Linked DNA regions of Homo sapiens: regions 1, 2, 4 and 5 are each linked to region 3. The links are contacts of gene promoters, found by promoter capture Hi-C in blood cells and fetal thymus (Javierre and others, 2016). All regions are on one chromosome and are shown on one strand. Each heading gives the region's core, a stretch centred on a gene start or on the middle of the fragment in contact. The rest is flanking DNA. Distances are from core to core; before and after follow the strand shown.

What was found. The method cuts DNA at HindIII sites, captures the fragments that hold promoters and counts their contacts. A CHiCAGO score of 5 or more calls a contact.
Region 1: a fragment that was not itself captured here is called in contact with the fragment with the promoter of RPS21 in region 3 in 3 of 17 cell types (endothelial precursors, M1 macrophages and M2 macrophages); the score reaches 6.9 in endothelial precursors.
Region 2: a contact is called between a fragment that was not itself captured here and the fragment with the promoter of RPS21 in region 3, in 1 of 17 cell types (endothelial precursors). The highest score is 5.2, in endothelial precursors.
Region 4: a fragment that was not itself captured here is called in contact with the fragment with the promoter of RPS21 in region 3 in 1 of 17 cell types (endothelial precursors); the score reaches 5.3 in endothelial precursors.
Region 5: a contact is called between a fragment that was not itself captured here and the fragment with the promoter of RPS21 in region 3, in 8 of 17 cell types (erythroblasts, endothelial precursors, megakaryocytes and 5 more). The highest score is 7.0, in erythroblasts.

Annotation. Positions count from the first base shown.
Region 1 is chr20:62,596,476-62,599,175 of GRCh38, forward strand. It overlaps LINC02970 (long intergenic non-protein coding RNA 2970), which reads right to left. Exons shown (of 2, transcript NR_184037.1): 2 at 1-743. Among named protein-coding and RNA genes, the nearest start is that of LINC02970, 5.6 kb to the right of the region's middle. The HindIII fragment of the contact is 1,373 bases long and covers 728-2,100 here.
Region 2 is chr20:62,188,943-62,191,642 of GRCh38, forward strand. The region is part of intron 1 of MTG2 (mitochondrial ribosome associated GTPase 2); the gene reads left to right. Among named protein-coding and RNA genes, the nearest start is that of MTG2, 7.3 kb to the left of the region's middle. The HindIII fragment of the contact is 4,226 bases long and covers 1-2,700 here.
Region 3 is chr20:62,385,653-62,388,352 of GRCh38, forward strand. It overlaps RPS21 (ribosomal protein S21), which reads left to right and starts at 1,451. Exons shown (of 6, transcript NM_001024.4): 1 at 1,451-1,484; 2 at 1,669-1,736; 3 at 1,959-2,022; 4 at 2,191-2,262; 5 at 2,657-2,700. The coding sequence starts at 1,687. It overlaps RPS21-DT (RPS21 divergent transcript), which reads right to left and starts at 1,337. Exons shown (of 1, transcript NR_186459.1): 1 at 651-1,337. RefSeq lists enhancers at 589-638, 917-1,608, 1,609-2,300 and silencers at 989-1,108, 1,539-1,728. The HindIII fragment of the contact is 6,470 bases long and covers 1-2,700 here.
Region 4 is chr20:62,170,066-62,172,765 of GRCh38, forward strand. SS18L1 (SS18L1 subunit of BAF chromatin remodeling complex) reads left to right here. Exons shown (of 11, transcript NM_198935.3): 9 at 2,617-2,700. Among named protein-coding and RNA genes, the nearest start is that of MTG2, 12 kb to the right of the region's middle. The HindIII fragment of the contact is 6,452 bases long and covers 1-2,700 here.
Region 5 is chr20:62,242,180-62,244,879 of GRCh38, forward strand. All of the region lies in intron 1 of OSBPL2 (oxysterol binding protein like 2), which reads left to right. Among named protein-coding and RNA genes, the nearest start is that of OSBPL2, 5.0 kb to the left of the region's middle. RefSeq lists enhancers at 1,614-2,222, 2,223-2,700. The HindIII fragment of the contact is 4,482 bases long and covers 1-2,700 here.

The DNA.
Region 1 (2,700 bases), core at 164-2,663, 210 kb after region 3:
GGGGGACCCGGAGTCTCCGTTGCCCCCACAGATCAGTCTCTGGGTGCCTCCCTTGGTGCTGAGAGCAGGGAGGGCCTGAGAGCCATCCCGAGCCCGTCTCGGTTCACGCTTCCCTGCCTGGCAGGACCCAGGGAGAGCTGGGCGGGTGGGGCAGCCACTCCCGGCAGTTCCGAGAGGATCTGGAGGAAACGTGCCTTACTGCAAGGAGATGGCTGGCTAGCGGTGGAGCCCTGGGCGCCCTCAGGGGAGAGCCTTCCGGGGACAGCTGCCACCCTTCTGTGGTGCCGGCCTCCTTCCCGCCATGCACCATGCCCACGGCACCCAGATGGTGGAGCCGCCGCCGGTTCACACTCTGGGGAGTTTTCCCAGCAACAGGTCCCTCCAGCCAGGGCATGCAGGAAAGTGCCCTTACGACGTGCTCAGGGATACAGCCACTGCTCCCAAACGTCTCTGCCCAGAAAGGCAGGTGGGATGTTGACCATAGACACAATAACCAACGCTTGCTGTCGTGGGGCCTGTTTGACAGAGGGACAATGGAGGCCAGAGAGGCAAAGGTGACTTGTCCAAAATCACCCAGCCAGGGCCATTAGCCACCTGCTCAGCACTGCAGCTTTTGTGCCAGGGACCTGCAGACACTCACTCACACTCATGGAGCCAGGAGGACCAATCCATGAGCACAGGGCACCTCGGAGTCCCGGGCGGGCATTCTCCGGCGTCCTTCTTCTGAAGCTTCTGAAAAGTTGCTGAGAAAGACAGAGAGGGTGACAAGAAGAGGACAGGTGTGAGACCCTGCAGAACTGGGTTCCACGTGCCAGCAGGACCCAGAGACCACGGCACTCCCTTCTCCCTACTAACTGGAGACTCCGAGAGGAGTTCTAGACATGGCAAGACGAAACAAGTCCGTATCCCTTCTTTCCCAGAATCGAGAAAAATGACCGCATTTGTCAGCAGAGCATGCACTAGGCGAGCCCTGCCTTGCTGTTTAATTCATCCCAATGCTCCTTCCGAAGGGGCCCTCAGAGGATGCTTCCAAAGCCTGGCATAGGCGAAGCTCAGGACCCTGCACCAGGAGGTCCCACCCCGGAGCCCGGATCACTCCGGGAATCACAGCTTTCGGGAGGAGCACCTTGCTACCGAGCCTTTGGGGTCCTGCCCGGGCCAGCCCTTCTGCTTAGGGACCTGCAGTGACCCTGTGCTGGGTCATGTTCTTCTTGGCACAATGAGCACTCCCTGGGCAGGTGGTCCTGGCCCCTGGGAGCTCGGGGATAGAAACACAGAAGAGGTGTGGTCGGTGCATCTCTCAGATGACTCCACTTAGAGTAGTGTCCCCTGCCTCCAGCTTCCACCAGAGTGTGCCTTGGTGGAGACAGTTGCCAGCATGGAGGGGGCATGACCAGCCTGGGCCACTGCCAGCCTTGCTCAGCTGACAGCTGCTGCATGACCTTTGGCATGGCCTGTGGTCTCCCTAGGCCTCCCCATCTGTTGAACAAGAAGTGATCTGGACCAGAGACAAGCTGGCAGCCACGGCTGGGCAGCACCCACAGGCATGTGCGTCTTAGGGCTGTGCAGTGCTGTTGAAAGTTTGCCGTACACTGCTGGGGGGGATGGAAGATGGTTCGGCCACTCTGTAAAACTGTCCTGCAGGTTCTTAAGCTAGACACACCCCTACCAGAGACTCAGCCGTTCCACTCCTAGGAATTCTTCCCAGAGGGATGAAAACGCGTTCACACAAGGACTTATGCATGACTGTCCATAGCAGTTTTATTTGTGATAGCAAAAACCTGGGGGAAAAACCAAAATGTCTACCAACAAGTGATTGGATGAACAAATCATGGTGCATCCATACAACGCAGAAATAAAAAGGAGTGGAATTTTGAAACACATGACAAAATCAAACGTGAAAATAATTATGCTGCGTGAAAGAAGGCGTGTATACATGTGACTTCGTTCATATGGAATTCTGCAAAATGCAGTTGTCTGTAGTGACATCGGTGGTTCCTGGGGACAGGGGTGGGAGGACACAGGCAGGAGGACATGCTGTGGGTGACGAGGTTCACCGTGGACCATGGGAAGGGTTTCGTGGGTGTGCACATAGGTCGAAGCTTTCCAAATCATCACTTTTACATGTGCAGTTGATTGTGTCAAATAATCCTCAGTAGAGCTGGTCAAGATAGTTGAAACTATATTCAAAACTGGGAAACTGAACATAATGACCCCAATTGCACATTTCTGTTGGAAAATTAGAAGTTCTGGTAACACTAGGCCTGTATTCAGGTGTGGTGTGGGGAGTGGGGTGTGGCTTCCAAGGGCTGGGCGTGGCTGTGTTGGGTTGGGCGTGGCTGGGCTGGACACGGCTGAGCTGGGCTGGGCGTGGCTAGGCTGGGCTGGGTTGGGTGTGGTTGGTCATGGCTATGTTGGGCTGGGTGTGGCTGGGTGTGGTGTGGCGTGGCTGGACTGGGCATGGCTGCACTCAGCTGTGTTGGGCTGGATGTGACTGGGCGTGGTGTGGCGTGGCTGGGCTGTGCGTGGCTGCACTCAGCTGTGTTGGGCTTGGCTACTGCCCTCTGCACAGGCCTCACCGCTCCTCACTGTCCACGCGCTCTGTGGTCCAGCATCATTTCTGGTCTCGTTGGCTCTGCGGATTGTGTCCCTTATGCCTGGCCAGCTGCCTTCATCAAGGGTGACTGCCTGGTGCCTGCA
Region 2 (2,700 bases), core at 161-2,660, 200 kb before region 3:
ACTGTTATGTAAATGTCAACTAGATAAATGTTTTGATAGTATTGTTCAGATTTTATGTCTTTACTGTTTTTATTTTTCTATTTTTAGACAGGGTCTCAGGCCAGGTGTGGTGGCTCATGCTTGTAATCTCAGCACTTTGGGAGGCCAAGACAGAAGGATCGCTTGAGACCAGCCTGGGTAACTGGGAGACCCTGTCTCTGCAAAAAAAATTTAAAAATTAGGCACAGTGGCACTTACCTGTAGCCCCAGCTACTCAGGAGGCTGAGGCAGGAGGATCTCTTAAGTACAGGAAGTCAAGGCTGTAATGAGCTGTGATTATGTCACTGTGCTCCAGCTTGGGTGACAGAGTGAGACTCTGTCTCAAAAAAAAAAAAGAAAAAAAAGTGTCTCTTTCTCTCATTCTATTGCTCAGGCTGGAGTGCGGTGGCATATTCATAGCTCATAGCAGCTTTGAATTCATGGGCTCAAGTGATTCTCCCACCTCAGCCTCCAAAGTAGCTGGGACTATAGGGGTGCGCCACCATGCCCAGCTAATTCCTTTGGTAGAGACAGGAGTCTTGCTATTTTGCCGAGGCTGGTCTCGAACTCATGGCTTCAAGAGATCTTCCCGCCTTGGCCTCCTACAGTGCTGGGATTACAGCCAGGAACTGCTGTGCCCAGCTAGCTCTTTTTAATCCACTTTGTCAACCTCTGCCTTTTAATTAGAATTTGTAAACATTAACTTTTTTTTTTTTTTTTTTTGAGATGGAGTCTCGCTCTGTCTTCCAGGCTGGAGTGCAATGATGCAATCTCGGCTCACTGCAACCTCCGCCTCCCCGTTCAAGCAATTCTCCTGCCTCAGCCTCCTGAGTAGCTGGGATTACAGGCACACGCCACCATGCCCAGCTAATTTTTGTATTTTTAGTAGAGACGGGGTTTCACCACGTTGGTCAGGCTGGTCTCAAACTCCTGACCTCGTGGTCCGCCCGCTTCAGCCTCCCAAAGTGCTGGGATTACAGGCATGAGCCACCGCGCCCAGCCAACATTAACATTTAATGAAATTATTTATATGGTTAGATTTAGGTGCACTTTTATTATTTGTTTCCTATTTGTCCCCTCTGTTTTTTGTTTGTTTGTTCTTTTTCTTTGGAATTGTTGGGCTAGTTCTGAGCATTTCATTTATCTGTTGGCTTTTCGGATCTGTGTCTTTGTGTTGTGTCTTAGTCATTGCTCTGGAGGTTCCAGTCTGCACACCTGTTAGCCTTCACTGTCTGCTCAGAGTTCATACTGTGCCCCTCACAGAAACGTGGGGACCTTGCAGTCATCTGGGTCCCTCGAATCCCCTCCTGACCTTTCTGTTGCCTTTCATGTGGATTACTTCTGTGCGCGTTGGAAGCCAACTACGCAGTATTTTTTTGTCTACAGTCTTACATATTTAAGAACTCCTAAGAGGAAAACAATAGTATTTTATATTTACCAATTCTGTTGCTCTCCCTTCCCTCCTCAAGATCCAGGCTTCCCTCTGGTATCATTTTCCTTCAACCCGAGGAACTTTCTTGAGCATTCCTTATACAGCAGCTGTATTAGTGACAAACTATGTTCGTTTTCTGCCATCTAGAATCTTTATTGCACCTTCGTTTCTGAAAGATATTTTCCCTGCGTATAGAATACCTCGGTGCCTCTTTTCTGACAACACTTAAAAATATCCCTACATAATGGTTAAAAGCAGGGTGGATCCTGGCCTAGATCCTGGACCAGAAGAAGGACGCTCTTGGGAAACTGCTGAGCCCCAAGCCCCACCTGGAGCTCAGTTAGTAGCGGTGCAGCGGCGGCGGCCGCACAGGCACGGCTGCGGGGGCACTGGGGAGGAAGTCCGCAGGGATGCCTTTGCACCTTGTCCACAAATCTAAAACCATCTCAAAATCAGCTGTCCTGTAAAATATATTTACAGGAAGGGTATCAAGGGGAGGGTGTCCCATGGAGAGGTGGCCCGGCACGGGAACTCAGCCAGTCGGAGAACAGAGACCCGCTAAAGAATGGGGAGCTCTGGGAGCAGGCGGGGAGGTGGAGCTGAGGGCGGGTCACAGCAGGTAGGGGTTGAGCAGCTCCATAAATATCTTAAAGTGCATGGAGGCCCGGTTTCTTATAGGCGGAGAATGGAGTTACCAAGACCACAAGAGAAAATTAGAATGACCCCAGAGTGCTGAATTGGGAATGAGGACGTCCTGTGCACAGCTGGCCTGCTGCCTCCCACGTGTCAGGGCTGGCTCGGGAGTCAGGAGAGGCTGAGGAACCTTCCAGCCCAAGGAGCTGGACAAGGTGTGGCAGCTGCAGGCAGCCGGGATAGGGACGCAGACTTTCCTACAGGGAGAGGCACTGCTGAGACCGGGGCCCACGTGGGAGGGGCTGTCGGTCATGGCCAGTCTCAATGACACCCTGGTTCTGGAGGGGACACCATTTTCTCTAGGAAACACACATGGACTGTTCTGGGTGCAGGGAAGTCCAGTCGGCGACTGACTCTTAAGTGATTCAGGAGGAAGTTCTTTGTACTCTTCTTCCAGCTTTTCTGTAACTGTGATTGCCTCAGAATTAAAGCAGAATGGCCAAGGACCCCACAGAGATAGTGACCCCCCCAAAGGAGGTGGCACCTTTTCAGAGGAGTGAGGCTGGGGAGAGGGAGGCGTCCGAGGCACTGCGAGGGAGGAGGCAGGCGGTGTCCCC
Region 3 (2,700 bases), core at 201-2,700:
AGAGTATAGTATTGGATTATTTGTAACGCAAAGGATAAATGCTTGAGGTGATGGATGCTCCATATACCCCATGTGATTACTACGCACTGCATGCCGGTATGAAAATATCTCATGTGCCCCATAAATGTACACACCCACTATGTACCCAAAAAATTAAACATAAAAAAACTTTTTTTTTTTGAGACGCAGTCTTGCTCTGTCGCCCAGGCTGGAGTGCAGTGGCGGGATCTCAGCTCACTACAAGCTCCGCCTCCCGGGTTCACGCCATTCTCCTGCCTCAGCCTTCCGAGTAGCTGGGACTACAGGCGCCTGCCACCACGCCCAGCTAATTTTTTGTATTTTTAGTAGAGATGGGGTTTCACCATGTTGGCCAGACGGGTCTCGAACTCCTGACCTCAGGTGATCCACCCACCTCCGCCCAAAGCGCTGGGATTACAGGCCTGAGCCACCGCACCTGGCCACTGAGTCTTAAGTTTTCTGAGGCTAGTTCTACATCCTAGGATCATGTCCCCCGCCCAGAGAAGACCCCAACATAGGCCGCGCTGCTCCCTCCGTCTACCGGTTTGGAGCTTCTCCTGGCAACAGGGTTCAGGCTACTAACAAGGCCTTCCTCAAGACCCCACCCATAACCAACGACCATACTTCGTGGGTCCATCTTTGTAACATCTTTACTTCCTTGGAGCAAATTCCCAGGAATGGGTTTTCGGGGTCCAAGGGTATGCACCTCTAGCACTACGACAAACGCGGCCAACACGCTTCAGGGAAACGGTGCCCCAGTTTGCATTCTGCTTCCCCTGCCCTGCCCTGGGGGTCTGACTGGTGAAACATGGGATGGCAGAGTGGTCGGGTGTTTCAGATTCCACGGTGGGCCGGGGTCTTTTCCTACCCTCGGGAGCCGTCTGAATTTCTCCTCTGCCGAGTTCCTGCGGGTGTCCTTCGCCCACCGGCCCGGGGGAGTGAGTAGCAGGCACCAGGTGAGCAGGCCTCCGCTCGCAGCGGCTACGTGCACGGGCAGGAGCACCGCCCCACGCCCCAGGTGGCCGCAGGGTGAGGGGACCGGAGGGCGGGAGGCGCACAATGGGGGGCACGCCCGTATCTCTAGCCCGGCCGGCAGCGGGCAGCGAGGCTCAGTCCTCGCCCCTTCTCCCAGCTGCTATTCGGGGCTCCCGAGGCGCTCAGAGGGGTCGACTGCGTCCGTGGGGCACAACCCAGGGGCCAGGCTAAGACGCCACACACGGCAACGACCCTCAACGACAACGACCCCCACGACGCCCCGCGCCCCAGGGCCAGCAGGCTGGGGTCCGAGAACCTCCTTGCCGGAAGCGGAAGTGCGTCACGGCGACGGCCGGCAAGCACGCACCGCGCAGACTCGCTGTGGTGGCGTGACCCGGAAGCGCTCGCCGAGGCCCCTCCTTGCCCGCCGATATCTCTGCCGGGTGACTAGCTGCTTCCTTTCTCTCTCGCGCGCGGTGTGGTGGCAGCAGGTGTGGCGCGCGGCGCGGGCTTCGGGCTCAGGGCTGGGGCTGGGGCGGGAGTGGGGGCTTGGACGCGGGGGACGGGGTGCGGGGTGCTGGGTGCGGCTGGGGCCGTGACCCTAGGGGCCGGTTTGCGCCGGGAGCCGGGGCACGGTTCCGGCCGTACTCACGGCGCCGCGCGGTGACTCCCCAGGCGCAGCCCAGCCTCGAAATGCAGAACGACGCCGGCGAGTTCGTGGACCTGTACGTGCCGCGGAAATGGTAAGCGCCCCCCACATGCCTCTCTTCCGTCCTTACCTAACCACCACGTCCCCTCGCCTGCCCTTGTTCCCCCACACCCCTCCCGTCCTTACCTCGTCACGTCCCTAACTTGTCCTGCCCCCGACGTTACTCTTTTCCATTCATATACCCCCAACCTCCCTCGTCCCCTCTTTCATTCTTACCGCCCAAGTCCCCTCTGCTCACTGCGCCCTTTCTCCACAGCTCCGCTAGCAATCGCATCATCGGTGCCAAGGACCACGCATCCATCCAGATGAACGTGGCCGAGGTGAGCTGGGAGCCCGGGAGGCGGGAAGGTTGTGATATATGTGCGGGAAAGGCAGGCTGTCCCATTGTGGAGGAGCCCCTGGGGTGAAGGTACAGGCAGAGGCTGGCTTTGAGGATTGGTGTTTCCCAAACCTGGGGGAGTGGTTTGTGACCCTTCTTCTCTTTCTAGGTTGACAAGGTCACAGGCAGGTTTAATGGCCAGTTTAAAACTTATGCTATCTGCGGGGCCATTCGTAGGATGGTGAGTGTTTCCCTGGGCTTTGCTCATCACTTCGGGACATCGTGGACTTTACCGTGCGCATTGGAGTGTGTGATGGTGCCTGAGTAGATCTGCTGGCAGAGTAGTTTGAGCCAGCTGGACTGGGCTGGCCGCCTGCCGCTTCTTGAGGGTGGAAGAGGGGTGCTCTGAGAAGACACTCAGGCAGCAGACTCTGCCTCTCACTAGGAGGTGCCCCCCCGACCCCGCTCCACCATAGTCAGGCTGCAGGCTGCCCCGGGAGAGGTGGCTCCCCTTCTGCGCCTGTCTCCATTCGCTCAGCGGGGGAGAGACGTGGGCTGGTGGCACAGCTGACCTTCTGCCATCTCAGGCAGCCGGAGTGGAAATATTCTTAGTGTGCTTTTTTTTTTTTCTTAAGGGTGAGTCAGATGATTCCATTCTCCGATTGGCCAAGGCCGATGG
Region 4 (2,700 bases), core at 107-2,606, 220 kb before region 3:
ACATGTTCCTCGTGGCTCATTGTGTCCACATCTTGCTCCTTCTGAGGAAGCAGAGGGTGTGCCGTGGCCTCTTGTTTCACACACAGATGCGCCATGCTGCCCGGCACCTTCTCACGGGCACCCCGCAGAATGCCAGAGGATTCTTAGAGAAAGAAAAGAGCTGGGCACGGTGGCTCACGCCTGTAATCTCAGCACTTTGGGAGGCCGGGGCAGGCGGATCACGAGGTCAGGAGATCGAGACCATCGTGGCTAACACGGTGAAACCCCGTCTCTACTAAAAATAGAAAAAAATTAGCTGGGCGTGGTGGCGGGCGCCTGTTGTCCCAGCTACTCAGGAGGCCGAGGCAGGAGAATGGCGTGAACCCCGGAGGCAGAGCTTGCAGTGAGCCGAGATTGTGCCACTGCACTCCAGCCTGGGTGACAGAGCGAGACTCCATCTCGAAAAGAAAAGAAAGAACCCTGGAGTACTTGCTGGTTGTGGAGGAAGGCCCCACATCTGCCCGCCCCGTTGCTGTCCTGTTGAGAGCACGGCCTGGGCTCCCCCGAGCCCTGCAGATTTCATGCAACACATCTGAAAACGGCAAAGGCCTTTTCCACAGATGTCGTGCCCCCTTTCCCTGCAGTTATCTCAGCAGCCCCCTTTCTTTGGGGATAGGGCGGCTGCTGCCAGTTCCCACTAGATCGCCTGAGCACCCACTGGGGTGTGAGAGCCAGGCCTGGTCCCTGTGTGCTGGGGCTGGGTGTTCTGAGCTGGCACTCTCACAGTTGTTGCATACCTGCTGGGTGCCAGGGCAAAGCTGGCCCGTTTCCTACAAACTGGCTCCTTTATTTTTTTTTTTTGTTTATGTTTTTTTGAGATGGAGTCTCACTCTATCGCCCAGGCTGGAGTGCAGTGATGCGATCTCGGCTCACTGCAACCTCCTCCTCCTGGGTTCACACCATTCTCCTGCCTCAGCCTCCCGAGTAGCTGGGACTACAGGCTCCCGCCACCATGCCGGGCTAAATTTTTTGTATTTTTAGTAGAGACGGGGTTTCACCATGTTAGCCAGGATGATCTCGATCTCCTGACCTTGTGATCCACCCGCCTCGGCCTCCCAAAGTGCTGGGATTACAGGCGTGAGCCACCGCACCCGGCCACAAACTGGCTCCTTTATTATGTAAAGAATAAAGTGGGCTATAAAACATGAGAATATGCAGGCTGACCCCCAAAAGCCTGACACCCTTGAAAACCCACTCCCCCATGTCTCAGATGGCTTTCATGGGGGCAGGAGAAAGGATAGTGACCTTAAGTCTTCTCCCGTGACGGTGACAGCTCGTTTGCCAGCTGTTGCTGGAACCGGCCCTGGATTTAGAGGAAGGCGTGGAAGTTCAAGACTCAAGATACTTCCTGGATAGAGAATAACTGGAAAGGCTCAAGTAAGTTTTTCCGAAGCTCTCGCCTTAGGAGGAGTTCAGCCTGGAATAAGAGCGTGTGTTAGTTTTGTCATCCCACCTAACTACAGATTGAATTACCCTGATAGGTTTTTAAGCCATTCCAGTGTGCATTATCTCAATAAAGCTGTTATTTAAAAAAAATACTAGATTGCAGTTTTAAAATACTTAAATTTTACAGCTTCTAAAAAAGGAAAGTTATTTCCAACCAGAAAAGTAAAGTAGAAAATGGATTCTTTGCGCAGAGCATGGTGGCTTACGCCTGTAATCCCAGCACTTTGGAAGGCAGGGGCAGCAGGATTGCTTGAGGCCAAGAGTTCGAGACCAGCCTGGGCAACATAGAGAGACCCTGTCTCTACAAAAGATTTAAAATTACCTGGGCATGGTCGGGCACCGTGGCTCACGCCTGTAATCCTAGCACTTTAGGAGGCCAAGGTGAACGGATCACAAGGTCAGGAGATCGAGACCATCCTGGCTAACATGGTGAAACTTCATCTCTACTAAAAATACAAAAAATTAGCCTGGCGTTGTGGCGGGCACCTGTAGTCCCAGCTACTCGGGAGGCTGAGGCAGGAGAATGGCGTGAACCCGGGTGGGGCGGAGCTTGCACTGAGCTGAGATCTCGCCACTGCACTCCAGCCTGGGCAACAGAGCGAAACTCCATCTCAAAAAAAAAAAAAAATTATCTGGGCACGCTGGCACACACTGTAGTCCTAGCTACTTGGGAGGCTGAAGTGAGAGGAACACTTGAGCCAGGGAGATGGAGGCTGCAGTGTGCCCTCATTGCACCACTGCACTCCAGCCTGGGTCCCAGAGCGAGGCCCTGTCTCTGAAAAAAAAAAAAAAAATTATATCTGCAAAGACCCTATGTCCAAATAAGGTTCCATTCACAGGTACTTGGAGTTAGGACATCAGCATCTCTCTGGGGAGCACATTTGACCCGCGACGCTGGCGTTCATCTCTGTCTTAGTTGTCATATTAACCATTTCGTTTCTTAGCTTTCCATTTGTATTTCTATAAGATAAAGGTGTAGTATAGTATTTGAATGGTTGTGAAAAAATAAACATGCCGAAGCAATGGATTTGGTTTTGGGATTCCAAAGTTACCGTGTCGTGAGTGGGCCACAGAATGAGCCCCCTTAGCCCAGGTGGGGAAAGTCATTTCTGTGTCTCCTCCTCCCTCCAGGAAACTCCCAGTACAGCCAGCAGCAGGCCGGGTACCAGCAGGGTGCCGCGCAGCAGCAGACGTACTCCCAGCAGCAGTACCCCA
Region 5 (2,700 bases), core at 197-2,696, 140 kb before region 3:
TGGTTTGGGCTAGGGTCCCACTGTGGAAGCGTGGTGGTGTCCCGGCCCACCTCTGCAGCTCTTGATAATAAAAGCATCTGTTAAATAGCTCACAGCACTGTTTGCGTGAACTTTTTGGCACTTCTTTCCTTTTCCTTCCAGATTCAGAAAAGAACTTGGGATCATTCAGCAGAATGTCACAGCATCCACATTCTTTCCGCTGGAGCTTCTGCTGATGCAAATCCTGTGACCTCTGAGTTGAGCTGAGTGGTGGAAGTGAGCTTTTATAAGGGACTGGATCTGAGACTCGTGCCTGATGTTTGTGGCTGTTTCTCTTTGCTTGCCTTCTGTTTTCAGTGGAACACTCGCTTGATGTATTTTGAGAAACAAACTCTGGGATCAGTCCTGTTGAGCTAGTGGCTGGCTCCATAGTTTGGGGCCTGAAGAGGTTCCCGCACCCTCAGGGCTTGTGGCGGTCATCAGGCCTCTCTCCTGGGTGTAAGGTGTGTACTTCTCACCTGCGCACTGAGGGCCTGGGGGCTGTGGCCCCGACGCTGAGGCAAGTCAGGGGTGGGAAGGGTCTGAGGGGCTCTTGGCTGAGCAGACACTGAGCACATTTCTTTATCAAAGGCGCTGGGACTGCAACCTTCAGGGGTGCCCAGAGAGCGCCTGTTGTGGGCTCATACGGGGAGTTCTTGGAGGAGCACCAGGCAGGGAGGACTGTAGTGTGTAGGGAGTTGTGTGGAGTTTTGGTTCCAGAAAAGACGGAGGCAGCTGTAGAGGAAGGAGGACTATGGTGTGGAAGTGAGTGCCTGTGCTTTGTACTGAATAAACCTAAGGCTGATCCAAGGCTGATCGTGAGAAAGAGCCCCCTGTAACCTGGGACCTTGTGCCACTGTGCTCGGCCAGAGAGCAACTTCCATTATTGCCTTAAAACTAGGGGGACTGTGATTCAGTGACATTTCGGTGACTCCGATAATGACGGCAGGTGTCAGGTGCGCACAGGGCGTGGGGCTACCCTCTTACTGTGAAAGAGGACACGGGCTGCGTCTGTGGTGGCGAGCTCCTGCGAGTGCCCTGGCTCTGGCTTGGCCTCTCTTGATGATGTAGCAGAGCTGGGAGTCTCGCTGTAATCATCACCCGTCTTCCAAGTAAGTCTCACCTGTGGGAAATGCTGGAACACCTGAGCGGAAGCAGAGCCAGGGCAGTGCCTGAGCTGGGGCCAGGGGAGGGGTCCCAGTGCAGAGGTGCCCGAGGAGCCCTAGCGCCTGCCCCGCAGCCCCTGCCCCGCAGCGCCTGCCCCGCAGCGCCTGCCCGGCAGCTCCGCCTCTTCAGTGGCTCGGCTGTCAGGGTAGAAGGCTCCTGGGTTAACATCATGGAGTTTTCACCCCTGCTTCTCATCAGAAAAGCTGGGGGAACTTTTTAAAAAGTGTGGGTTCAAGGCCCAGCCCCAGCTTCACTGAGCCTGGGTTTCCCGGGAGGGGCCCAGGAAGAGATGTGTTTAACAAGCTCGGGAGGGTCTGGGGTGGGTCCTCAGCGGGGAGTCCAAGTGCTGGAGGCCCACGGTGGGGTCAGGACCCTTTTTTAGATCAAGGACCCCTTTGAGAACTTCATGAATATGAATAATGTGGGTCATTATTCTGGGGAAAAAAATGAACGAAAAATTTTTTTTCCTGTTTTTTTAAATTTTTTAATTAAAAAAAAATTTTTTTTGCAGAGGGTAGGGGGGTTAGAGATTGGTGGTTTTCCCTGACCTTGGTTTGAAGCCCTGCCTGTAGGTGCTCAGGAAGCACAGTTGGCAGCCACGTGGGCAGGTCTGATGTTAGGGTGACAGGTTTCTCAGCACAGTGGACCCCATTAGGGCTGCACAGGATGAAGATGGGCACGATGGTGAGGAGGGCCTGGAGCTGAGGCCACAGAGAAGGAGGCGGCCAGAGGGCAAGGACGCACTCCAGCAAGCCAGCCACTCCTTGGCTGGGCAGGTGCCCTGGGGAAGGCCGGGAGCCCTGCAGGACAACAGCCTCTCACCTGGGTCACTCACTTCCCTTTGCTGTCTTAATTTTCCTCCCACTCCCTCACCGCGTCCTCCGCCTGCTGTGGCCCTTGCTGGGTTGTGAGATGTGGGTACAAGGTGTCTCCTTCTCCTCTAGCTGCAGCCGCAGGCTGGGCTCCTCTCGGGGCCGTTGGTTTTGATCATCAGAGATACACAGCGGCGGCGGGTCGGGGGCTGGCTGGACTGCTGCTGCCCTTGGAGTGCTCTCCCTGCCCTCCGGCATGGCTTTCTGAGAGCAGGGCGCCCGTGAGCTGTGGGGCATGCGCCCTGTCCATTGCCTTCCCACCCAGTCTCGTGGGCCGCATTGGAACAGCTTTTTATTGTGTTGCATAAGGAGAAGGTTGATTAAAACACATGTTTTTGTACGGAAGCGCTTGCATTCATCTTGTGTGTTTGGAAATACATCGTACTGCATTACAAGGTAATGTTCCTCGAGGTGCGTGGTGTATTTTTGGCAATTAATATTCCACAGGAAGCAGTTAAGTCAGCGACAAGACTTGAGGGAGTTGACTGTGGTGAGTGGGGCGCTAGGCTCCGCTTCCGGGACGTCGGGCCACACTGGCCGCGAGGCCCAGTGGGAAGGTTTGCCACTCCCCACAGCTGCTTCTTGGGACCAAGCCGGGCTCACCTTTGCCTGCCTCTCAAGGTCACCCTCTTGGCATGGAGAA